Regions from separate parts of the Homo sapiens genome. Here all the other regions are linked to region 4. Evidence: promoter capture Hi-C in 16 types of primary human blood cells and fetal thymus (Javierre and others, 2016). All regions are on one chromosome and are shown on one strand. The core of a region is centred on a gene start or on the middle of the fragment in contact, and the rest is flanking DNA. Distances in the headings are between cores, read along the strand shown. Region 1 overlaps SKAP1 (src kinase associated phosphoprotein 1). Region 2 overlaps SKAP1 (src kinase associated phosphoprotein 1). Region 3 overlaps SKAP1 (src kinase associated phosphoprotein 1). Region 4 holds the start of HOXB9 (homeobox B9). Region 5 overlaps SKAP1 (src kinase associated phosphoprotein 1). Region 6 overlaps SKAP1 (src kinase associated phosphoprotein 1).

The links. The method cuts DNA at HindIII sites, captures the fragments that hold promoters and counts their contacts. A CHiCAGO score of 5 or more calls a contact.
Region 1: a contact is called between a fragment that was not itself captured here and the fragment with the promoter of HOXB9 in region 4, in 9 of 17 cell types (endothelial precursors, megakaryocytes, M2 macrophages and 6 more). The highest score is 12.0, in endothelial precursors.
Region 2: a fragment that was not itself captured here is called in contact with the fragment with the promoter of HOXB9 in region 4 in 13 of 17 cell types (endothelial precursors, M1 macrophages, M2 macrophages and 10 more); the score reaches 17.2 in endothelial precursors.
Region 3: a fragment that was not itself captured here is called in contact with the fragment with the promoter of HOXB9 in region 4 in 9 of 17 cell types (M2 macrophages, erythroblasts, megakaryocytes and 6 more); the score reaches 9.0 in M2 macrophages.
Region 5: a fragment that was not itself captured here is called in contact with the fragment with the promoter of HOXB9 in region 4 in 2 of 17 cell types (megakaryocytes and M2 macrophages); the score reaches 5.8 in megakaryocytes.
Region 6: a contact is called between a fragment that was not itself captured here and the fragment with the promoter of HOXB9 in region 4, in 3 of 17 cell types (megakaryocytes, erythroblasts and endothelial precursors). The highest score is 7.1, in megakaryocytes.

What each region holds. Positions count from the first base shown.
Region 1 is chr17:48,171,926-48,175,813 of GRCh38, forward strand. The region is part of intron 9 of SKAP1 (src kinase associated phosphoprotein 1); the gene reads right to left. Among named protein-coding and RNA genes, the nearest start is that of MIR1203, 17 kb to the left of the region's middle. The HindIII fragment of the contact is 1,446 bases long and covers 1,904-3,349 here.
Region 2 is chr17:48,190,868-48,194,492 of GRCh38, forward strand. All of the region lies in intron 4 of SKAP1 (src kinase associated phosphoprotein 1), which reads right to left. Among named protein-coding and RNA genes, the nearest start is that of MIR1203, 36 kb to the left of the region's middle. RefSeq lists an enhancer at 1,302-1,919. The HindIII fragment of the contact is 2,282 bases long and covers 790-3,071 here.
Region 3 is chr17:48,282,618-48,286,866 of GRCh38, forward strand. The region is part of intron 4 of SKAP1 (src kinase associated phosphoprotein 1); the gene reads right to left. Among named protein-coding and RNA genes, the nearest start is that of SKAP1-AS2, 9.6 kb to the right of the region's middle. The HindIII fragment of the contact is 2,076 bases long and covers 559-2,634 here.
Region 4 is chr17:48,624,051-48,627,828 of GRCh38, forward strand. HOXB9 (homeobox B9) reads right to left here and starts at 2,308. Exons shown (of 2, transcript NM_024017.5): 1 at 1,703-2,308. The coding sequence starts at 2,219. RefSeq lists an enhancer at 1,161-1,838 and a silencer at 3,249-3,404. The HindIII fragment of the contact is 5,521 bases long and covers 1-3,778 here.
Region 5 is chr17:48,229,934-48,234,033 of GRCh38, forward strand. The region is part of intron 4 of SKAP1 (src kinase associated phosphoprotein 1); the gene reads right to left. Among named protein-coding and RNA genes, the nearest start is that of SKAP1-AS2, 62 kb to the right of the region's middle. The HindIII fragment of the contact is 3,731 bases long and covers 399-4,100 here.
Region 6 is chr17:48,246,597-48,250,372 of GRCh38, forward strand. The region is part of intron 4 of SKAP1 (src kinase associated phosphoprotein 1); the gene reads right to left. Among named protein-coding and RNA genes, the nearest start is that of SKAP1-AS2, 46 kb to the right of the region's middle. The HindIII fragment of the contact is 3,470 bases long and covers 1-3,366 here.

The DNA.
Region 1 (3,888 bases), core at 1,377-3,876, 450 kb before region 4:
GGCGGGCGCCTGTAACCCCGGCTACTCAGGAGGCTGAGGCAAGAGAATTGCTTGAATCCAGGAGGCAGAGGTTGCAGTGAGCCGAGATTGTGCCACTGCACTCCAGCCTGGGTGACAGAGCAAGACTCTGTCCTGGGGAAAAAACAAAAAACAAAAAACCCTCTTTGATTAATTAGTCCTTAATCCTTAATGTATCCATCTTTGTTCAGCTGTAATGGAGGCTGGTCATGTACATAATTTTATGTTCCTAGTACTTGGGGCTTGTAGTTATCTTTTTACTGTTTTTATTCAGCATGTCTTGTTCATTAGAGTATAAGCTCCTGAGGGTAGCTGGAATGGTCTTTTAATTAATTGCCGTAGATTCACAATGGGTTCTAACTCAATGCCAGTGTCTAACTCCAGTCAAATGTTTATACGGTCAAAGTCATAACATAATTGGCCTAAGTTTCTTACTCCCATTAACCGGTTTCATCTCGTCACATTACCCGATAAAATAGGAATTGGACCCTTATAATGTAAATATGTGTACCAGAATCATATTTAGCTATTTTATACATGGGGCAAAGTGAAGAAAAATACACTCGTTATTCTTTTCACTACCACCATGCTCTTTTCCCACTCTCTCACTCACACATATATACACACATATGCACAGTAGATAGGGTATAGTAAGCAATGTTTTGAGGGCTGAATACTCAGCTCCTCCTGGCCACATTTACTTTCCTTTCTCCTGAGTCTTAATGACATTTGCTTGTCTTGCTTCTCCATAGTTTTGCCACTAAATGAAACTTTGACATTTCTCTTTCTTTTTTTAAATGTAATGTTTATAGGGCAATATGAGTTCCGGTATGCCAAACTGGGGAAGTAAGCTCCAAGCTCATAGGTAAGAAGGAGCAGCATAAAAATATATTAGAATACTATAAAGCATTAAAGGAGTAATTGATTTCAAGTAAGAAAGAGACTGATATGGCCAGGTGTGGTGGCTCATGCCTGTAATCCCAGCACTCTGGTAGGCTGAGATGGGAGGATCACTTGAGCCCAAGAGTTAGACACCAGCATAGACAACAGAGCAAGACCCTGTCTCTATAAAAAATAAAAATAAAAATTAGCTAGGCACAGTGATGCACACCTGTAGTTCCAGCTACTTGGGAGACTGAAGCAAGAGGATTGCCTGAGCCCAAGAGTTTGAGGCTGCAGTAAGCCATGATTGCGCTACTGCAGTCCAGCCTGGGCCTGGGCAACAGAGCGAGACCTTGTCTCTAAAAAAAAAAAAGGACGGATACTCTGGGAAATAAAATATATATATATATGCCCTACAATATAGTATGGGAAAAGGAGCACTTTGACTCAACAGTTCTTATAGCCATGTATGATCTAGCAGCAGAGAATGTTCTACTTGACACCTGTAGTGCTCCCTCAACCCTACCACGAGGAATAAAACAACCTAAGCTAATGGAGGAGTGAAATCAAATATAGGAAACAGATCATGCTGAAATAAACCACATTAAACATTCTTTGCACATTGTCTTCTCGTTACTCGTCCACTTCCTTCCTTTCTCAGCTATGATGCATTTCTTTTTTGACATGGGACTAATTTTAGGATTGGAAACATTAGAGGAAAAGTTGGTACAACCTCAGTTTTAGAGATACCCAATAATTTGGACAGAGAGCAGCTCTTTTGTTGATATCAAACAACTCCATCACAAAGACCAATAATTTGCTGTGCTTAGGCACTTTTGCAGAGGTTTATTCTACCTCTGCTGTCTGTGCGCAGCTGTCTCTTCCTCCCAATTCTAATCAATGTAAATTGGGTCAGATCTCCACTGTGAATTACAAATTGGATCCGAAGTTGGAGGGTCACAGTGCTGCTACTCCACCTCCTTCCCACCACCATTAGATGGGAAGCTTCACCAAAGATCTTTTCTAAATAAATCAGACTTTATTGTAAAACTCGGCCACTGACGAGACATAACCTCATTAGCATTGATTTTAAAATAAATTATTGAAAGTGGCTTGCCTGCTCTTTGCATTTGTAAAATAGGAGAATGTAAATGTATTTGCAATGATAAAAATGAAAACTAAAACTTAATTCCTTTATTCTTTTGGGCAACAGCACTTAATCTAGTCATAATACAAAGATGGAACAATAGAAATGTGTTCTATGCAGTTCAGTTCCAGACCAGTTACTCTTGATTTCCACTGCACTTTTGGAATCAACTAGAAAGAAAAAAAAAACATTGGCTATAGAGCTTTTATATCATTCACCGCCATTACTAAGCTCTACGATGATGGATGTAAACGGGGAAGCTCCAATCCCCACATCTGTTTTATCTAACACCGTCCTTCCCAGGTGGCTGAAAGTAGGCTCAAATCAAGAAGCCTTCCCATTGATGGGCTTGGCGCTATGCCTCTGGGGTCTTTGGAAGACTGGGTAGGGGGCACTGTCACATAGTGAAGGAAAACACCATTCACAGCTGGTTGTGAAAATTACACCCCTAGACACCTCCCTAGGTTCAGAGGGCACAATACAAATAGGCATACAAGTTATCTCAGATCTTTCCATGAAACTGAACAGGTGTCTTTGCAACCCCAGAGTCAAAGACAACTATTATATGGCAACAGAAAAAAAGTCTTGTTGCTCACAAGAAGGGGTGGGTTAAATAGCTAAAGTTCTCATTTTTATTAATCTTTAATGTGACACTTTAATTTTAAGAGACTATTTTGAAAAATATTTTTTAGGCTAAAGAGCTTGTTGAATTTCTTTATAAGAATATTATTAGGCATTTCAGCATTATGTCTACTGAAATACATCTTCATTTAAGAGTGAATTAAAATTTATGTGCTAGCTCAACTTTAAACAGTAATGGATTATAATGGTCCTTGCTCCTAACAGGGCATATGGGACCCCAACCTTACATAGGTTTTAAACAAATTAACCTCTAAAGATTACTGTCCACTTATCACATTAAATGCTCTACTTGATCCCCAAATATCTCATCTCAATTGGGAAAACAGTTGAAGAAGATTCTGTTAACTGTGTGAACATGTAAGAGAACCATGGGGCATCACAAATGAGCATCAGTATCTGGAGAGTCGATTTCAATAAACATTCTTGGCACAATGTCAGGGACACTAATGAGAGGCTGAGAGGAATAGGACACTGAATCCACCTCAGAGGGACAGAGAGGAGCCAGCAGCTTCTCATGACACCTGGCTATTTTCTGAAGTGCTGCTCTGACACTCCTCTGACATTGGCTACACTGATATCAGAAAGAATAACATTAGAAAAAAATGACTAAATCAGAAAGAGGGGAAATCAGTTACTTCCCCAAATAAAGAAAGTGATAAAAGCTTCAAAAAATGCCAACTGTGTAAATGTGCAACCAGATGTCAAGGTGCTGTGGTGACAGATGCAACAGAAATACAGATAGACTCAAGGTGCAAAGGGGACATGCAGAAAAGTAGAAATAAACTGCTCCCCCGCATGCACAGATATGTTATAAATCCACGGATGTATAGCACCTCATCAGACAACATGCAAAATACAAGCAAGATGCTAATAACACATTTAATTCTCTGTTGTGTATTTGGTTATCTCAACTGTTAGCTCAAAATATTCGCATCCTATTTCAGTGATATGGGCTTGATGTATAAGATATTAAACTCAATTTGTGCTAACTGCAACACTTGGAATGCACTGAATTTAACTTCACAAATAATACCTAAGCATCTACTAACTGGGGAGAAAGACCTGAATACAAATCACTGGTGAGGGCTAAAACAAAGCTTAATTCCAGTTGAGTATCTGGGAAGGTGTCACTGAGGAGACATATTTGAGCAGAATGTGTATGATTTCACAGGCTGAGATCAGGGGGATGGTCTAGGTAG
Region 2 (3,625 bases), core at 681-3,180, 430 kb before region 4:
CCAGCTACTCGGGAGGATGAGGCACAAGAATCTCTTGAATGCGGGAGGCGGAGGTTGCAGTGAGCCGAGATCGTGCCATTTCACTCCAGCATGGGCGACAGGATGAGACTTCGTCTCAAAACAAAACAAACAAAAAAAAGTATGCGAAAGAATCTAAGAACTGTAAAAGGCTTCACAAATAATACCCTGAAACTTACATCAGCCTTTAATTGTATGCTGCTAACATTCTTGGCTTTCAATTAGCCTTGTTAGGTACAAATTTATTGAGAAGTCAAGATCCTAATCCATCTTCCTCCACTGGGGTTTATACTTACTTCACAGAAGGGAGGGACAAAGGATGGAGACAAAGAAGGAATTTACTTCTCAAAAAATAAAATGAAAGAAGAATGAAAAAAAAAGCCTCTTTTAAGGACACACTCCACATTTCTTAATTAGGCAAAATGAAGGTAATTGGGCTAGCGGTATTTTAACATTTATTCTTTTTAGTCCCAGAACTCAAATCTCTTTTGGATTGTCTTAAATAATTTATGAAGCAAACCAAATACAAAACAAAGTAAGGCATAACTACATATGAATCAACTGGGCCACCTATAGAGTATCTTGAGAGTTATGGTTGAAATAACTTTTTTTCAAACAATTGTTTTTTGAACATTTCCTACAATAACATTTATTCAATGGTGGCTATGAGCTGGCACTTTGCTCAGTGCTTTTCCTACTTTTTGTTTTAAAATAACATCTACGACAATTTAAAATGCAATCAAAATTACATTTTGCTTTAAAGCTGTTTCAAGCTTAGTTATAAAAAGGTAGATCAGAAGAGCCTCTTTTTCTGTTTTTAAGTGTGTCTATGTGCCTGATTTTTTATCCAATTGGTCCTTATTGTTAACCTCCTTGTTCATGGACTACTTTTATTTGTGTGTTTCACAGTTAGCAAACTATGTGGTTGCCATAAATCCTTTTAATCAATCTCAGGGTGCACGCATGAGATGAACAGCAGCAAAGGAAAGTTCATTTTTCTAGGGTTCTTTCATTTCTCCTACCCCTCTGAAAACACCCTCCAAGGAAACAGTAGCAGATTCTACTGAGGGTGAGGCATTGAGTGGGGTGAGGACCAGTTACAGAAGAGAAGGCTCTCTGAAGTGCTGTCAAAAAATTGCTCCTGGGGAGGCCAGGTGTGGTGGCACAAACCTGTAGTCCCAGCTACTTGGAGGCTGAGGTAGGAGGATCTCTTGAGTCCAGGAGTTCAAGGCTGCAGTGAGCTGTGATTGAACCACTTCACAACAGCCTGGGGACAGAGCGAGACTCTGCCTCTTAAAAAAAAAAATTGCTCCTGGAGGCCTAAAAATTAAATGAAAGACATAGGGAGATGAGGAAAACACGATCCCATAAGCTGGGAGTTTCCATCTCTTCTTTCCACAGGTTTTTTTTTTCTTTTCTTTTTAAAGGTCTTGTTAAACTTAGAGACACAGCTCCTTGTCAAAGATGCCAAGAGTCTGAATCATAAAAGACATGTTAAACGTTCTATTAGAATTCAAACCTCCTTTTTTTAATGCAAATTTAAATGCCATTTTATGGAACATCTATAATTATGAAAATGGGAAGACATTGCCTCGTGTGCAGGGAGAGTCTGTGAGTATGAATATTACATTAATGTGCCCACACCAGCTCACTGATCCTGCTGGCAGGAGCATAAAAAATGCCTGAGTGAAACTTTTATTTAGATGTTAAGACTCCAGGCCCCAGCGGGGTGACAGAGACAGCCCCTGTGAGTTGCCATCAGAGAGAGAGCTTGAATTGAATTACCCAGGGGGGAGGAAGTAGTGATGAGCACTGCTTCGCTTATTTAATTTCATTTACTTTCAGTACATTATCAGCATGAGGTTTTTCTCTCCCCACCAACTGAAACCCAAGAATGCCACCACTAAGGAAACAAAGACATAATACAGCAGAGATGTAACTCTAAGTCACTAATTCTAGGAGACAAGGGATAGCACCATCACCACCTTCTCTCCCCAAGAGTCAAACTCAGTTTGCTAAAATTGGGTACCAAAGGAGCTGCTGAATTTTTTCTCTTGGTCATTCACTAACAAGATTCTGAAAAGGAATAGAGCTGGAAACAGCTTTTTATATGGTGTGTTTTTGTGTATAGTCAGTAAGATGTGTTATGTTGCTTTCTTTCTTTCTTTTTTTTGAGACAGAGTCTCACTCTTGTCGCCCAGGCTGGAGTGTAATGGTGTGATCTCAGCTCACTGCAACCTCCACCTCCCGGGTTCAAGCGATTCTCCTGCTCCAGCTTCCCAAGTAGCTGGGATTACAGGCATGCACCACCATGCCTGAATAGTTTTTTGTATTTTTAGTAGAGACGGGGTTTCTCCATGTTGGTCAGGCTGGTCTTGAACTCCTGACCCCAGGGGATCCAGCCGCCTCGGCCTCCCAAAGTGCTGGGATTACAGGCATGAGCCACCGCACCCGGTCTATGTTGCTTTCTTATTCATTAGACAGAATCTGTATTGAGGAATTCTCTTGCCTGGTTCCCCTTATGGGCAGTGGGAAAAAATGGGATTATAGGCTCAGTTTAGAATGTCTACGGAAAAAAAATTAGGAAATGAGGTCAGATCAGTCTCTAGTCTACTAACTGTCTTCTGTGTACAAGGTACTGTGTGGTGAGTTCAATAACAGAGTTGTTCTCAATGTAGTTGGCTCTGAGCTCAATCTCATTAGCTCCATGATCTATCTGACAAATCCAAATAACCAAGGTGGGAATCCACAGTGGCATGCAAGGTACCTCCTCTTTCAGTGTCAGCGCAGGGTCCTACTGATCAAGAACTAGTGATCCTGAGGATGAACAGTGTTAGCCATGCCATGGGGTGATGAGGCAGGAATCTTGTATGCCTGGATCCACACCTACTGGTAAACGAACAGATCTGCAGAGAACTACTTAATGCATAATAGAAAGTATGTAAAATATGCTTTAAAGGACGGTTATAAAAATAGGAAGAAGTTGCAAACAATTGTATAAGTTGCTATTTTAAGGCAAACAATTTATATTTAAGTATACAATTAAAAAAAGAAGCTTTTTATTCATTACCTGAGAAAAGATATCACCACCGTCATGAAAAAATAAAAATGATTTTGATTTATTGAGAATAAATGGCCCTCTTGGCTAAGTCTAAAGGTGTATTACATTATATCAGCACAAAACAGAATTACATTAGTGTCATAATCTCTCCCTACCACTACACTTAACTAAACCTCTCAGAACAGCCCGTATAAAGAAAAGATTCACTTAGCTGAAGGATATGGGGCCACAAAGATAAGATCAACAGAGAAGTATGTTACCCAGAAGTGATGGCCACCCAACTTTCATGGCAGATGAAGATAAAAGAAATTCTCAGATATCTTTCTCTTCATCTAGTTTCCTTTAAACCCTTGTATCCCACCCACATCAAAAAAAGCAATAAAAAACGACAGAATAGGATTCCATCTCTCAATGCTAAACATGACTCTTTAGTCAGCTATGCACAGCAACAACAATGGGGACCCTTTGGAGTGTGATACATTTCCATAAAGCAGTCAATAAAAAAGACACGAGAGCTTATGTGAGTCACGGCCTATTTAACCAGCT
Region 3 (4,249 bases), core at 347-2,846, 340 kb before region 4:
TAAAAAGTCAGCCAAGCATTGTGGTGTACGCCTGTAGTCTCAGCTACTTAGTAGGCTGAGGTGAGAGGATTGCTTGAGCCTAGGAGGTCAAGGTTGCAGTGAGCCAAGGTCGTCTCGCTGCACTGCTGCTGCCTCAGTGACAGAGCAAGATCTGGTCTCAAAAAAAAAAGAAAGAAAAGAAAAAAAGAAACTGCCCTTTTTTTTTGGTAAGGAAAATTGCACATTTTTGTGCTCCTCTGATAAATGCAAACCCACCCATCTGAGGGAACAATAACTACAAAATGCCATCCACTCTTAGCAATTATGTAATTCCATGTAATTATTTTCTCAGTTTGGCTAAAAAAAGCAAGTACTTTGAGATCTCTAAAATAGTCACAAACTAGTGCATTTTCTAGTTAAGAAGATGTTTGGGAGAGTCAAACTCTTATTTCAGAGACAGAATATAATTTAATAATTACCTGAATACAGAAACACCAATGAAGTTGTGGCTTAGACGTGTTGGGCATTTGTAAAATATAGGTAATATCAAGAGACTCCTGCTGTGAGTCAAGACAAACAAGCTTCCCCCTGCCACCCAGCATAACTGATGAGAGAATGCAGAGAAAAGTGATTAGAGTAGACTATGATACAGAGCTGGAGAAAGTTTCCTAAGGGAAGACATGTTTAAAGTTGTATCTAAAATTCAGATGTAATAAGAAAAATAAAATAATAATAAAATTTAGATGCATATATCATTAAGGCAGCATAGCATAGTGCTTAAAGCCAGGATAAACTCTGGAATCAGACTGCATGGGTTCAAATCACAGTTCAACTTCCTCTTGGTCTGTGACCTGGGGCAAGTTATTTAACCCTTTCAGACTCTGACTCTAGGTGCTTATAATAACCTCTGCCATCTATGGATGCATCAGCCTTGGTCCAATCAACCATACAGCAGAGATCATATGTCTGTTGACTTGGCTGACTGGCTATATTTCACTCTAACTATAATCTAGCAGCAGGCAGGGGGCAGGATCTCACTAACTCTTGAAGATCTTAGTGGTGGTGGATAGATTCCTCTTCTGAAGTGAGCGACGGCTGGATACAAGCTGCTGCTCCATTCTGTTTCCCTCTGGGTGGGAAATAACTTAGGAATAAGGAGGACAATGTGCTCTCAGTCTGCCTAACTGGCCCTTCTGTCTGGGCATCTTGTACCTAGCTAGTTCCCCAGGGCAGAAGTGGGACTCTAGCCAGCCTCCTCTTCTGAGATCAGACTGTACTTCCCTCCCTGATTAATGTCCCAGACTCTCACCTGTCATTCTTGGAACACCATGATTACTCAGTTTATTTCAATGCCATTCTCTGTCTACTCCTCTTAGAATGCCTGGGATGTAACTTTGAAATTGTTTGCCCAGCCTAAACTCAGCTCACAGGTAAAGGAGCTGCTCCCTCCCTTTCATATTGCTAAGATTTCCTTTATCTCTCCACTTGCTTCCCCCTCCTTCCTGCTAAATCCCACACAGTCCCTTCTCCTAGTAAGAGCTGCCAACTTGTTGACTGGCCAATTCAACTCCATTTATGGCAAACATTTGTAGTTGTTCTGATTTTAATGGGGCTACCCTTTATAATAATGTTTTTAAAAAGTAGGTCACGAATAGAACCAATAAAGATAAGAAATAATTTCTGGAGGCCAATTTCTCTTAAGACATTCTATATCAAATAAAAACTTTATGGTGGGTTTGAAACACTGAAACAGACCACTCATGAGTAGTTATTAGAACATGGAGGAAAAACTGTTTGCCATTTTAGCATAGGTAATTTACAAAATGTCATTCTTTTCAATGTACTCAGAGGCACATGGGCCTATGGTGGGTTCTGCCAATTTCAAAGGTGATGATCTATGAAGGAGATTTGGATATGAGTACACAGGTGACTTCTATGTTCAGACATACTCTGTCATCATGTTCAAAAACAGCTTCCAAAAAGCACAGTTGGCATGTTGTGAGAAAAAATACACTTATATTCAATATATCCCTTTTTTATAAGTAACGCAGGGATCTATACATCTTTGACAATTTTGCTCTCACCTTAACTAGAGAACATATCTATGTCAACTAGCATATATTTTAGCAGTTGTAGAAGGTTGGAAATCTTAAAGGAAACCAGACTTTAGCCAAGTCTGGGAGGACCTGCCTTTCAGGGGCTGCTAAAGAATTGGTGGAGACATACATGGTAAGACTGAAAGCATTTGGATTTTCTTCACAATTCAACACAATTCTCCTATAGTAGTCATTAAACTCTGATCAGGTTACCAGATTGGTAGTTTTCAGCACACTGAAATTCTTAGTTGCTGAGATTTATGAAAGCCATATTGAAAGACATTGAGGTATGGATTTGCCTATAGAGCAATTATTAATATATGGAGATTTCTCTTATAGTAGGCCTGAGTCCTCTTCTGACGCACAGAGAGGGCCATGTTTTATGATTTTGGTGCATTTACTCTCTAAGCTCTCCAAATCCTCACAGCCATCTCTAAATGTTCTTTTATGGTATTTGCTTTATGGCCAAGATGTTATTAAGTATGAGAAATGAGGCATTTAGCAACATATTTGAATAAGGGAATAAGATGGGAGTGGTGATTCTAGTAAAGGAGCAGAAAGCTTACTTATACCTCCTCTCCTTTATACGATACCACCTCCTCTTTCTGGTCATACTGAGTCTAGAGAGAAAAAGGGAGCCCTGGCCGGGCACTGTGGCTCATGCCTGTAGTCCCAGCACTTTGGGAGGCCAAGGCGGGTGGATCACGAGGTCAGGAGTTGGAGACCAGCCTGACCAACATGGTGAAAACCTGTCTCTACTAAAAATACAAAAATTAGCCGGGCATGATGGCGTGTGCGTGTAATCTCAACTACTCAGGAGGCTGAGGCAGGAAAATCGCTTGAGTCTGGGAGGCGGAGTTTGCAGTGAGCCAAGATCGTGCCACTGCACTCCAGCTTGGGTGACAGAGCAAGACTCCATCTGAAAAAAAAAAAAAAAAGGGGAGCCCCTATGTCAATATTTCCTATGAGCCCTTTTGATCCTCTGACCCTAAACAAATGCTGCATTTTTATCATTCATTTTTTTCTCCACCAGAAATCATAACAGCCATTATGTGCAATTCTGTGGTGAGAAAAGGAGACAGGAATTCTGAATATTGCTCCTTAATCTGTTCCTTGTTTTCTCAGACATTTACTTTTGGAGTCAGATGTATATGAACATTCCTGATTTGCCACAGCTGAGCAGTATGGCTTTAGGAAAGTTACTTAACCTCTCTGATTCTCAAGTGTCCACATTGATGAAATGGGCATGGTAATATCTACTTTACAGAATTACTGTGAGAATTAAAATGAGATATTATATGGAAAACAGCCAGTACAGTGCTTAGCACATAAAGGGCTCTCAATAAATGATTGCAACAGTAATTTCTGATAGCAGTGACTCAGCTTGGGGAAAAGTCTTAAACAGGTTGGGGAGGCTACCTCAAATGCTTGATGAAAGGAGAAAACATAGAAACAAACAAGAAGACAAATGAGGTGTCATTCATTTTACCTTACAGAGAAGATCTGCTGTATAAGACTAAATTTTAGGTGTTTCTGAATGTGGGATTATTGTTAGACCACAGCAGGAAGGCTGTTTCAATCATATAGGGATGCATATAAGAAATGTGAAGCCTGGAATATATAACAAGATTTATTTTTATAACCTTCAGTGAGAGGTATTGTGCAAGTATAAATTATATATTTTCACTTTTGTAATTATACCTAAACCACATACTCCCAGAAGATTTCATTATGTAATTCCTCAAACTTAACTTCAAGTTTCCTTTATAAAGCAATGTTCTATAAAATTGCAATTTTCTATAATATTGCCATTGCAATTGCTATATGTAACACTTCAAATAGTATATGTGGGATCTCTAGGTATTTGAACTAGAAAAGCAAAAATAAAGGTTATGAATTCAGCCAGAGGCAAACAACCAACTAGGAATTACTGAGTGGATCTAAGTTATATAAGCATTCAACAGGCAAATTAACATCTACAACATCCCATAACAAACACACACACACTCGACTTCTTCCTCAAGAGCAAGAGTTCTTTTGGCTTTGAAATCAGCTTACTAGTTGCTTCCCCACTTTCTTATAACTCCTCTTCATATTGCTCATCTTAATCATCTAGATAATTTTCGCTGGGCGCGGTGGCTCATGCCTGTAATCCAGCACTTTGAGAGGCCAAG
Region 4 (3,778 bases), core at 1,058-3,557:
AGAAGAGGGTAACCGAGTGGAAGAGAGGAAACAAAAATATATACAGGCTTCTCTTCTTACCTTCTCTCCCCCTACTCTGGAACTCAAAAAAGTTGCCAAATAAAGCTAAGCCAATTAAAAATAACAGCCACCAGCTACTAGCTTCCTTCTCCCCAAGTGAAAAACACTGGATTTTTTTATATAAAAAATTTGGTTCATCCTACACTAAGTACCGTGTCTTACCAATTTGCAGCGCTATTTCCTTAATGTGATTGCCTGGGATGGGACCCGCAGCCGCATTAAATATGAAAGAGGGAAAAAACTGTTAATAATTGATCCTAGCCAAATGGCTGCCTTGCCATAATGGGCTTTTCAGGCAGAATTTGGGGGTTTAGGGTGGGGGATCTGTTTGGGAGTGTGCGGGGAGGGTTGGGGAAGAATGTGTTCCCTAAATGCCAGCTCTTAGGATTCCACCTGGCAGGTTGGAGGTGACAGGACCCTGCAAGGAATGGGGCTGCTCTTTACTCTCCAGCAGGCAAGGATGCTCTAAAGGGCCCTGGGGCCACTCCGTCAATGGGAAATCTAGCAGGGCAAGGAGAGACTAAAACATCCCTACTTCCCAAAAAGAGTAAGAAACGAGGACCTGATCCACCAGCCTGCGAGTCATTGTTTGAGGCTGAGTTCCCTCACCGATGAGCCCTTCTCAACCTTAAAAATAAATAATAGGAGAACCCTCTCTTCTCATCTAGTAGCACCTCCTGAAAATCAGCCAGACTTGGCGTTCTGGCCGGGGTGCTTTTGAGGAGTGGGAGGTGACGGGAAACTACCCACAAAGGGTAAAGTTCTCCGCCTCTCTGCAACTCTCTCTTCCCCCCACCCCTCCTCTCCCCGGGGTCCCTTCGAGATGCCCCGATATTCGGAAGCGATTCCCCGACTCCCCAAGAGGCGGACAGCCCGGGCTGGGGCTCGGGAGCCCCGCAGAGAGCAGCGGGGGACCGCAGAAAAGGAAGCGGTAGCCCCTGCGAGGACGCCGAGGAGGAGAGGGGCCACCGGAGGGAAGGCTCCCGGGGAGGGGCCGGCGCATCCGGGGAGGGGGCTCAGTCACCGCGTCCTGGGCTTCCCCCGCCCCTCCTGTCGCCGGTTGCGGACTCTGCGCGGCTACAGCGCGAGATCTGCTAGGAACAATCCTCCGCCAAGCTGTTGCATCGCAAATAAAATCCTAATGAGCTCCCTCCCCCTTCCCCTTGGCCGGCTTTTACGGTCTGCGCGTGGCGCGGGGAGCTCTGCCAGCCGCACGGCCCCGGGCAGCCCAGTGCGCTCCGGCCCTTGCCCTCGCCGGCTCTCGGCCTCGCTGGCCGCTGGCCCCGGCCCCCGCCAGCTCCTCTCCCGGCCGTCGCCGGTCTCTGGCCGGGCTTTCAGCTGGGGCCTCCGGGAGAGAGGGGGAAAGAGGGCCGAGAGAGCTGCAAGTCGATCCCCGAGCCCCTGTTCCCCGCAGGACTTGGAGAAGTGGGGGCAGCGCTCCTCTGGCGGCCTCAGTCTCCCCTTCTAGAGCACGCAGCTTTCCCCTTCCCTCCGTCTTTCCTTCCTCTCCCCTCCTCCTCCCGGCCCGCTCTCCGGCCACCGCCGCAGTTTCCCTTCACATTGTCCGCAGTTTATTGCCTTTCCCCTCCCCGCCCCCCTCCTGGCCTTCGGCCTGGGTATTTCCTCACTTTTTATAACTTACTTTGATCCGGCCTCTCTTTGTCCTCGCTTCCTTCGCAAATTTTATTGTCCCCGTAGCCGGGTCTTTGATTAGACAGCACGGCCTCCCTGCCCGCCGAAGTTTCCAAACTGTACTCGGGCGTGCCCTGTTTGAGCAGCTCCCCAGGCGCGCCCAGCAGCGGCTCCGCCTTCACCGCCGCCTGGCCCTGCCCCGGGGCCGCTTCGCCGCGCGGCGCCGGCTCCAGCCAGGTGCGGAGGTACCTGCTCTCGGCCGGCGGGACGCCCTGGGGCTGGATGTAAGGGTGGTAGACGGACGGCAGGCTCCCGGACGCGTGCGGGCTCAGCGGCGCCCAGGAGGCGCCGAACACCGGCGCTTTGGGCTGGAAGCTGCACGAGGGGAACTCCAGGTGCTCCGCGTGGCCCGGCTGCCGCGAGCTCGCGTACTGGCCAGAAGGAAACTTGGCTGGAGGCGCGTCCTCACTCTCGTGACTTATGATCGAGTCGACATAATAGCTGCTAAGCGTCCCAGAAATGGACATTCTCAGACATTATCCGGGCGCTTGCAGGGGGAAGGGAAGCGCTCGCGCGGCGGCGCCCAAGCAGGGAGAGGTGGCACCCGGACCGGTGTGAGGGCTTTCGGACGCGACCCCCCCAGCCCCCCACCCTCCCACCCCCACCCCCTGCTCAACTTCTCAGCCAACAAAGTACAGTGGAGCAGCCCGTCTCAGCTCTCCTTGCAAAATGATTGGTCAAAGTTTTTCCGACTGCCTGATAAAGCGTCAGCTCCGACATAAATCAATCGGGCGAGGGGGCTGCGCTCTCGCTGTCATCCGTCCGCACCGCACTCCATATCGAGGATGGATTGTTTTATGCTGATGCAATGTGCTATCACGTCAGGGCTCCGGCGGCCACGTAACCTCAGCCCCAGCTACCGGCCGCCCGGTCCCCCCCTCCCGCTGCAGGAAGGGGGGCAGTTCTCAACATGGGGCGGCGGGGGCGGAGGAGAGGCGGAGGGAAGCGGCGGGCTGCCTTGGGAGGGACGCAGGCTGTAGAGCCCTCTCCCCAGGCGGGTCGGGGAGGGAGGGAGAGCAAGGGCGGAGGGAGGGAGAGAGCCCCAGCCCGGGGAGAAGCCATAGAGGCCCGAGAGGATACTGGAAGAGGAGGTGCTCCTGTCCCCCCACACACACCTCCACCCCGCAGGCCCTCATTTCCTCTTCTCTTTCCCCTTGACAAAAGATGTTTATTAAACAACAACAGCAGCAGCAATCCACAGGAGATGAAGTAAAATGATGAGGGGAAAAGTTGGGGATTTTAGGACGTTGTCCGCTTTGGAGGGGGCTCTCCTTGCACTCTTTGTAGAGATTTACATGACTGCGAGCTTCCCTGGGCCCCTCAGTAGCTGAGGGAGGAGGAGAGAGGTGAATAAAACGACTGAGTGTCCAAGAATCCACTATCTGTCCTGAAATTAGAAACTACTTGAGGTTAAAGGGATCCATCAGGTCCCGGAAACGTGAGCCTAGGAAAGAGTTTAATACAAGGAACCAGAGCGCCTTTACATTTATTGGGCCTTTCTCTGACTCTGGCCAGAAGGATGGATTTAAGATGGTGGTGGTGACGTGGGGGGTGGGGGTGAGGGAAGCCATTTCTCCTTTTCTCCACTGAATAACCACCCAGGCCCCTAAATTTGCCCTGATGAGGGAGCTAAATAGGAGAAAGGGTTAAGGCCACTTTCCTGAGGTGTGACCAGAGCAGAGGCCTGGGAAAGGATCCCCAGTCAGCAAGGGAAGGGGTCCCAAGTTATCTCCCCTTCCATCCAAAGAGGAAGGAGCCTGGGCTGAGTTTTCAGCCCTCCTGTACTACTCCTCTCACCTGAGGCTCCTGCTCTGGAGATTTCCAAACACCGATATAGGGGCCAGTGTGGACAGCGAGCCCATGGTCAGTCTCTTCCCCTCACTGCCTTACCCCCTGCAGACCCCTTCATTGGAGCTTCCAAATAGCCCTTTTTATATATATCTATTCTGTGGCCCTGCACAGGGACTCCCCCGGGGCCCACCGACTGGCTTCCTCGCTCCTCTCCCAGCCCCTGCTCCTCAGCTTC
Region 5 (4,100 bases), core at 1,014-3,513, 390 kb before region 4:
GCTTGGTCCAGTTTTTAGTGGAAAGTGCACACATCACAAAACTTAGTTTCAAAATTCGCCTCCATGCTGACAGTCTCTGTTAGAAGGGCAGAGCATCCAGGCTCAGACCTTGAACTGAAAAATCCTTCTCACTTTTCAACAATGCCCCTTTGGTTAGAATGCAGGTCAGGCATACTTGTCCAGCCATGGCCATTACTGGGCTGTCTGCTCTAGGGCTAAAAAAAGATGTTGATTTCCTGTAATATCTGCCCTGCAATTTTTACAGGAACAATGTTCATTAAATTAAAAATAATAAACCAGGCAATGTTCTTGTGTAACCTGTTTCTTAGAACTTGCTGTCCACATGACAGCCTTCCAGGATGTCTTTTCTTGTCCATACTAGGTTAAAGCATCAACAAAGCTTTGTTTTGTGTTAAACTCAAAGGTGTCTTTCTGCAGATTCTTCCAGAACTGCTTGATGGGGGAGAGGGAAGATCATGCCTGGCAAAAAGTGATTTACACTAACATATACACAAAGAAGATAATCATCTTGTTTTATGTGCCGGTTGCAGTGGCTCACACTTGTAATCCTAGCACTTTAGGAGGCTGAGGTGGGCAGATCGCTTGAGGCCAGGAGTGTGAGACCAGCCTGGGCAACATGGCAAAACCCTGTCTTTACAAAAAATACAAAAAATTAGCCAGGTGTGGTGGTGTGTGCCTGTAGTCTCATCTACTTGGGAGGCTGAGGTGGGAGGATCCCCTGAGCCTGGGGAGATAGAGGCTACGGTGAGCCACGATCATGCCACTGCACTGCAGCTTGGGTGACAGAGTGAGACCCTGTCTCAAAAAAAATTGTTTTATGAGTGAGTAAGCATATATAATTATAAGTAAGATCCTAAATCTTTATTAGACAGACATGTAATGAAATGGAATAGAATAGAGGCATAATGACATATTAACCTGATTTTTGCATAAAAGCACAGTTGCATAAAAAAGATATTGTATAGTCCTTTATGATAATGAAATGTATTACATATATTATCTCATGTAATCTGCACAGTTTAGGAGGTAGATGTGATACAGATGATGAAGAAAGAAGGCTGTGGGCATTTAATTCAGGGATAGGTTAAAGGATAGATGCAGGCAGTGTTTACATCTCTCTGTCCCAGTCTGTTTAAACCATAGTATTTTCAAGTTAGTGTACACAGTGGTTTACAAATCAGCTGCATTTGCATCACCTGGGCACCTTAAAGATACCTCTAGAGCCTTGCCCCTGTTTCACCAGATATCAGAATGAATTTCTGGGTCAGGTTATTGGAAATTTACATTTTTAACAGACTCCCTTAAATTATTCTATTATGCTTCCATGTTTGAGAGAGATCTTCACACTAAGGGTCTCTCAGACCAGTAATTATACCATTATTTCAAAAAACAGCTAATAATGTGTAGGGATTATTGCAATAGCTGTTGTAAAAGCATACATGCTTACACAGCCTGAAGAAAGAAGGCTGCTTTTGCAGAAAGCAAAAGCAAATTAACTTAACAACTGGCATAGTTTGAGGAAGGGTACTACACAAGTAGAAGGGTACTAAATACTCTATGTAGTTGAGAGGGTTTCAGAAAATGAGTTAATAAAAAAAAAAGAAAGCAAGGAATTTTACGCTGAGACCTTCTAACTGTCCTGAAATATTTGAAGGGTTGTCCCATAGAAATAGGGAGTAGTGGGAGTACTAGGACCCACAAGCTGAAGCTAATGACAGTGGGGGTTAAGTTCAGCCTGAGAAAGACCCTTTAGACCTTAGAGAGCCTCCACCTCCCCAGCCTTTGGGAATAATGGTGGTCATGAGGTAGGAAGCCTCACCTCACTGCAGGGTTAAGCAGGGACTATATAACCTAGTGTTAATAGATTCTTACACTGATGGATAAGTTGGCTTTATCTTCTATAATTCCTATTTTCTCTATACTCTCCTATTCATTCTTCTCAAAATACCTATGTAAAAAAAACAAAGGCACACGTTACTGATACATATTTTATAATCTGAGAAACTGAAGTCAAAAGCTGAGGTGAGTTGCCAAAAGTGAGGCACTTGCTAGCAAAGCTAAGAACAGATCTCTCCTTCCTGGTATTCTTCCTTCTTAACCCCCTTTTCTTCACCCTACAAACCACATAGGTGCCTCTTAGGAAACACTAAAGCACTTAGGAATATAGCCTGAAAACTGCTATTGTAGGCCAGTCACCTTCGAACCTAAAAATGCAAGTTCCTGGGCGTGCCTCAGATTAACTGAATCATAATCTGTGCAAATGGGACTCAGGAATCTGTATGCCAGGTTGGGCACCACCATTTTAGACTTCTTTCCATCTGGAATAAGGGACAGGAAATCTGATAGTCTCGTGTTCTATATACTATTCTTTGTAACTGCTGATTGATTTCTATGAGTGCAAAGATACCACCAGGTGGGTACCTTTTTATGTAAAGATTTCAATGCTCTTGCTTTACATTTACATGGGCACAAATATTTATATAATGATCACAAGTTTATTTACAGAAGTAACAGATGGCTGTAAAGGTGATACAAATGTATTTGAGTCAACGGTAAAGGTTCCATTGTGTATTTTACAGGCCTGGGTAAATGTCAGCCTTTACCCAAATATTGGCAGCATAAAGTATATGGATATGGGAACAGTATGGAGTTAGAAAAAATTCCCTGCCCTTCTCGTAGGCTCTGAGTAAGTATCCCATTGGATTAACCAGAGTCCACTTGATTGCTACAGTTTCAATAGCTTGTTCAGACATCGATTGCTGTCATGTCACTAGGAGAAAAGGATTAATAATAGGGTGCTCAGGCTGGCTCAATACTGCTGATAGTGCCTGACAAAAGACCGTTAGTAGGACTCCCATGGGGACACTGCCTGCATAGGAAAGCTACAAACAACATCATTCAGGATTTCGCAGAATAATGATTAACTACAGAACTTCAGCCTACAAAACCCAACCAACAGTTCTATTATTTCCAAATAAATTCACTGCTTGATCTTCCTTTTCTTAGGTTCACAGATTATCCAGAATCAGAATGTCTAGTGGATATTCATAACCATGATTGTGTTCTTATATAAGTCACTGTGCCTGGACTGTTTTCGAGAGATGCATTTCTGCCAATCCTGATCATGGAAAACAGCAAGATACTAGAGGAGCTTGGTTTGGCAAGTGTCTCCTGAGTAAATTTTACAAAAGAAATGCTCCATCTCCAATAGGAACTCTGTGGCAGTTGTGGCTAATGGGTACCACAATCTGGGGAGGTCACCAGTTCTGGATCTCACATTTGAAAAAACTCAATTTCAGCTATGGAAAATTAAATGGGGCTACTTTGCAATGGGTTTCAATGTTCAGTTGAGATTAAGGTGAAGGAGGGTGTTAAAAGGAAATATTGATGATTCTTTACATCAATAGAAAAGAGAAAGGATGGCAGTGCTAGAATGTGTGGTTTTGTTGAACTGTGTTGTCCCTGTTTGGCAAAGGTTTGGTGATGGAACTAGAAAGAAGGGGACAAATTCTGACTTCTAGTAAAAACAAGAATAGTCTGTAATTTAAACAGATAAAATATAATACTATAAAATTTTACTGTACTAATTGTATAAAATATGGGTAAAATAAGATTACTGGCCAAGTGTGGTGGCTTACACCTGTAATCCCAGCACTTTGGGAGGTCGAGGTGGGTGGATCACGAGGTCAGGAGTTCGAGACCAGCCTGGCCAACATGGTGAAACCCCATCTGTACTAAAAACATACAAAAAATTAGCCGGGCATAGTGGCTCGCACCTGTAATCCCAACTACTAGGGAGGCTGAGGCAGAAGAATTGCTTGAACCCAGGAGGCAGAGGTTGCAATGGGCTGAGATTGTGCCATTGTACTCCAGCCTGGGTGACAGAGCAAGACTGTGTCTTGAGAAAAAAAAAATGTTTACTTAGAGTGGCAGAAATACAAGCCAACAGCTTCTCTCTCTGCATCCCCCATGCTTATATGACAAGAGTTCCAAGTTGTTTGAGTGTTTGGTTTTTTTGGCAGTGAAAGGTTTAAGGGCATTTATCTCTATAACTAGCAATTTAATAAGTACATGACTTC
Region 6 (3,776 bases), core at 382-2,881, 380 kb before region 4:
CTAATTTCTCCTTTTACTAAGGCATGCAGAGATTAAGTGATCTGCCCAAAGACATCAAGCTACAGCTTGGACCACATTTCAGGTCTCCTAACAGTGCAGAGATCTCTGAGAGTTAATCACCCAATCCTGCTGGTCTTTTTCATCACTCTAATCTAAACTGACTGATCTCCTTGGAGCTGCTATGTACTTACAGTACTTATCACACAGCCTCTTGAATTTCAGTTACTTGGGTGCATAACTTATCTCCCACGTCATCTCTCATGTGCCTTTGACACCTCTGTCTATCCCTGGAATGCTTAGAACAGTCTTAACCAGAAGGCATTTAGTAAATATTTGTTGAATTAATGTATGAATGAATGTTAGAAAGAAGGAAATTAAACAACCTTTCCCATCCCCCTGACTCATACCTCTCGCAGTCTCAAAAGTTCTCTCTAACCCAACTATCTGAATTGAACCATCAATTCTAGTGCACAATAAATAAATACCTCCACATCTGCAGAAAAGTGTCACTATACCTAATACATATACACAAATTCACTTACTTTACAAAAGTCTCTGTGTACTCACTGTGTGCATTTCACTTCCAAGTATGCACACAATTTACCAAAGAAGTAGGAGACCAAACCCTGCCTTCCTATTAGTCACATTCCATTGGGAAGACCTGTATACAGCACAACTAGACATCTATTAACTAAGCACCATGAAAGCATGGACATGATAACGAAGGCAAATAGCTAGAAAAAGGGATTCAGGGAGGCTAAAGAAGTAGTAGTTACAGAGGAAGCTGCCAATACTATGCAGCATATCTTATGCTGTCTCTTTTATGGGGCTGCAATTTGCAAGCTAAGCCCAATACAATTTGTTTCCTTCTATCCAATACTTCTGATTTCTTTTCCTCTATCATTCATTTTCTTTACTCAATGATTTAAAGGTAACCGTCTTTTCCTACCTCACAAAAGTTTTAGTTGCTGACCAAAGTTTGACTAAATATCATTTCACGTGTATTTTTCCAGTTGGAGATAGTAAGTCATAGTAACAATACATACACCACCTTTAATTTTTCAAAGTGTTTATATATATATTTTTTCATCCTTTTTCCCCCAGTAAACTCAGCAGGGAGGTGTCAAGTGCAAACCGCATACTATAGATGCATACTCGATGCATAACAGCTACACTTTAATTTTGCAACACTGTTCTACTTCTTTCCTGGAATCTCTCTTCATGAATTTCCTGGAAAGAGGAAAGCAGAAGAAAGGCATATCTCTATTACAATGACCTGCTTATTTTCTTTATCACACTAATCACAATATGTAATTATTTTATTTATTGGTTTAATTCTTTATTGTCGGTCTCCCCAGTAGAATGTAAAACTCCTCAAGTTTACTCTCCTTAAATGTAAAACTCATCTATCTTATTCTTTCATTGTAGGCACTCAACAAGAAATTTCTGAATCGATGAATGAATGATCAACAACACTATTTCTATTAAGGCAAATAGGTCATGATAAAAGAGGCCAATGAACAGACCTCATAGTGTAGAACTGATTAGCTATATTTTTACCCATTTATTCTTCCAAGGATGGCCTGCGCAGGAACAGGTAGTCTTCTTAGTTTTTACTTTTGCCAATTCTTCACCAAGTAATTATTATTTTCTTTGTATACGGTACTGTATGAAAAACTATAGGGGAGGATGGGCACAGGTGGCTCATGCTTGTAATCCTAGGACTTTGGGAAGCCGAGGCGGTTGGATCATCTGTGATCAGCAGTTCGAGACCAGCCTGGCCAACATGGTGAAACTCAATTTCTACTAAAAATACAAAAAATAGCCGGGCATAGTGGCATGTGCCTGTAATCCCAGCTACTCATGAGGCTGAGGCAGAAGAATCGCGCGAACCCAGGAGGTGGATGTTGCAGTGGGCAGAGATTGCGCCGCTGCACTCCAGCCTGGAAGACAGGGCAAGACTCCGTCTCAAAAAAGAAAACAGAAACAAACAAACAAACAAATTGTAGGGGATAAGAAATTTAAGACATAATCCTTGCCGCCAAGGAGCCTATGTGATTACAGCAATACCATAGTAATATAAGACAGCAAATGACAAATGCAAAAAAAAATTATGCAGTCAACATGTGATATCAATCAACAAAGGGAGAAACTGCCTTAGATTGTGTGATCAGGAAGGGCTCCCTGGGAGTGGTGGTAGTATCTGAGTTCAAGATAAGTTTAATTTCTATCAATGAACAGGGTTTAATAGAGGGCCTTTAAAAAAAAATCATGTTATGTCTTAACATACCCCAAGTTTAGATAAGAACATTTAATTAGGCCGGCGCGGTGGCTCAAGCCAGTAATCCCAGCACTTTGGGAGGCCGAGGCGGGCGGATCACGAGGTCAGGAGATCGAGACCATCCTGGCTAACACGGTGAAACCCCGTCTCTACTAAAAACAAAACAAAAAAACAAAAAAAACCCATTTAATTAAATAATATAAACACTTTGAGATCCTCTAATAGACAATAACTTGTCAATGCAAAATAGTTCTATTAGACTATTCAGGTGGCCTCCAAAGCAAGTTTTTAATGGCTTTATGTATGTTTAATCACACTCAGTTGGTCTAGCTTACTCAGCTTTAGTCCCATTAGAATTTAAAAGGTCAAGTTTCAAAAACCTAAAAAGGTGATTTAGAATAGAAATACCAGCTTAACCTTAGCTACGGCTAAACTAACATTATAATAGTATTGAAAATAGTACCTTATAGAAAATACATGGACAAAAGAAGAATATTAAAACTTTACAATTCTTGGCTGGGCACAGTGCCTCACACCTGTAATTTCAGCACTTTGGGAGCTGAGGTGGGCAGATGGCTTGAGCCTAGGAGTTTGAGACCAGCCTGGGCAACATGATGAAACCCTGTCTCTACCAAAAATACAAAAAATTAGCTGGGCCTGGTGGCGTGTGCCTGTAGTCCTAGCTACTCGGGAGGCTGCGACAGGAGAATCATCTGAACCCCGGAAGTCGAGGCTGCTGTGAACCATGATCATGCCTCGGCACTCCAGGCAGAGCAAGACCTTGTCTTAAAAAAAAAACAAAACCCGGAAGCCCCCCGCAAAAACCACTTCACAATTCTTTCCTAAGGTTATATTTTAAAAGTAGAATTTGAGTAAAATTTAAAATCACAATTGGAATTTTACTAAAAATTATGACTCACTGATAGCTTTTAATGCATATTGCCTATCTGGGAGGGCACAGAGGCCTTATAAGTGAGTGAGAAAGATGTAGACCTAACAGCACTGATAGGGAGCCATCTCTTGAAAATGACACAGATCTGTTACAGCTCAGAAGGGTAAGAGAGGAGTTTAGGAGCATTTTCTAAAGCTTGCTGGTTGGAGCTGTTGCTTTCTGCCTGAAGCATCCTATCCAGTCTCTTACCCTCACTCATGCTGCCATTAAAATATCTCCTGCCTTTTCTCACATACTCATTCCTCAATTTCTTTCCCTAATATTTACATCTCATTTACTGCAATTTCATAATGTTTTATATTAAAATGACTCCAAACTGTTATAATCTATGAGATCTATGTTATAAGCTGTGAGATTATAACAGTTTGGAGTCATTTTAATATAAAACATATTATGAAATTGCAGTAAATGAAAAAATACATATATTTTGCTGCCATAGACAGTTTTTTTTTTTTTTTTTTTTTTTTTTTGAGATGGAGTTTCACTCTGTCGCCCAGGCTGGAGCGCAGTGGCATGATCTCAGTTCACTGCAACCTCTGCCTC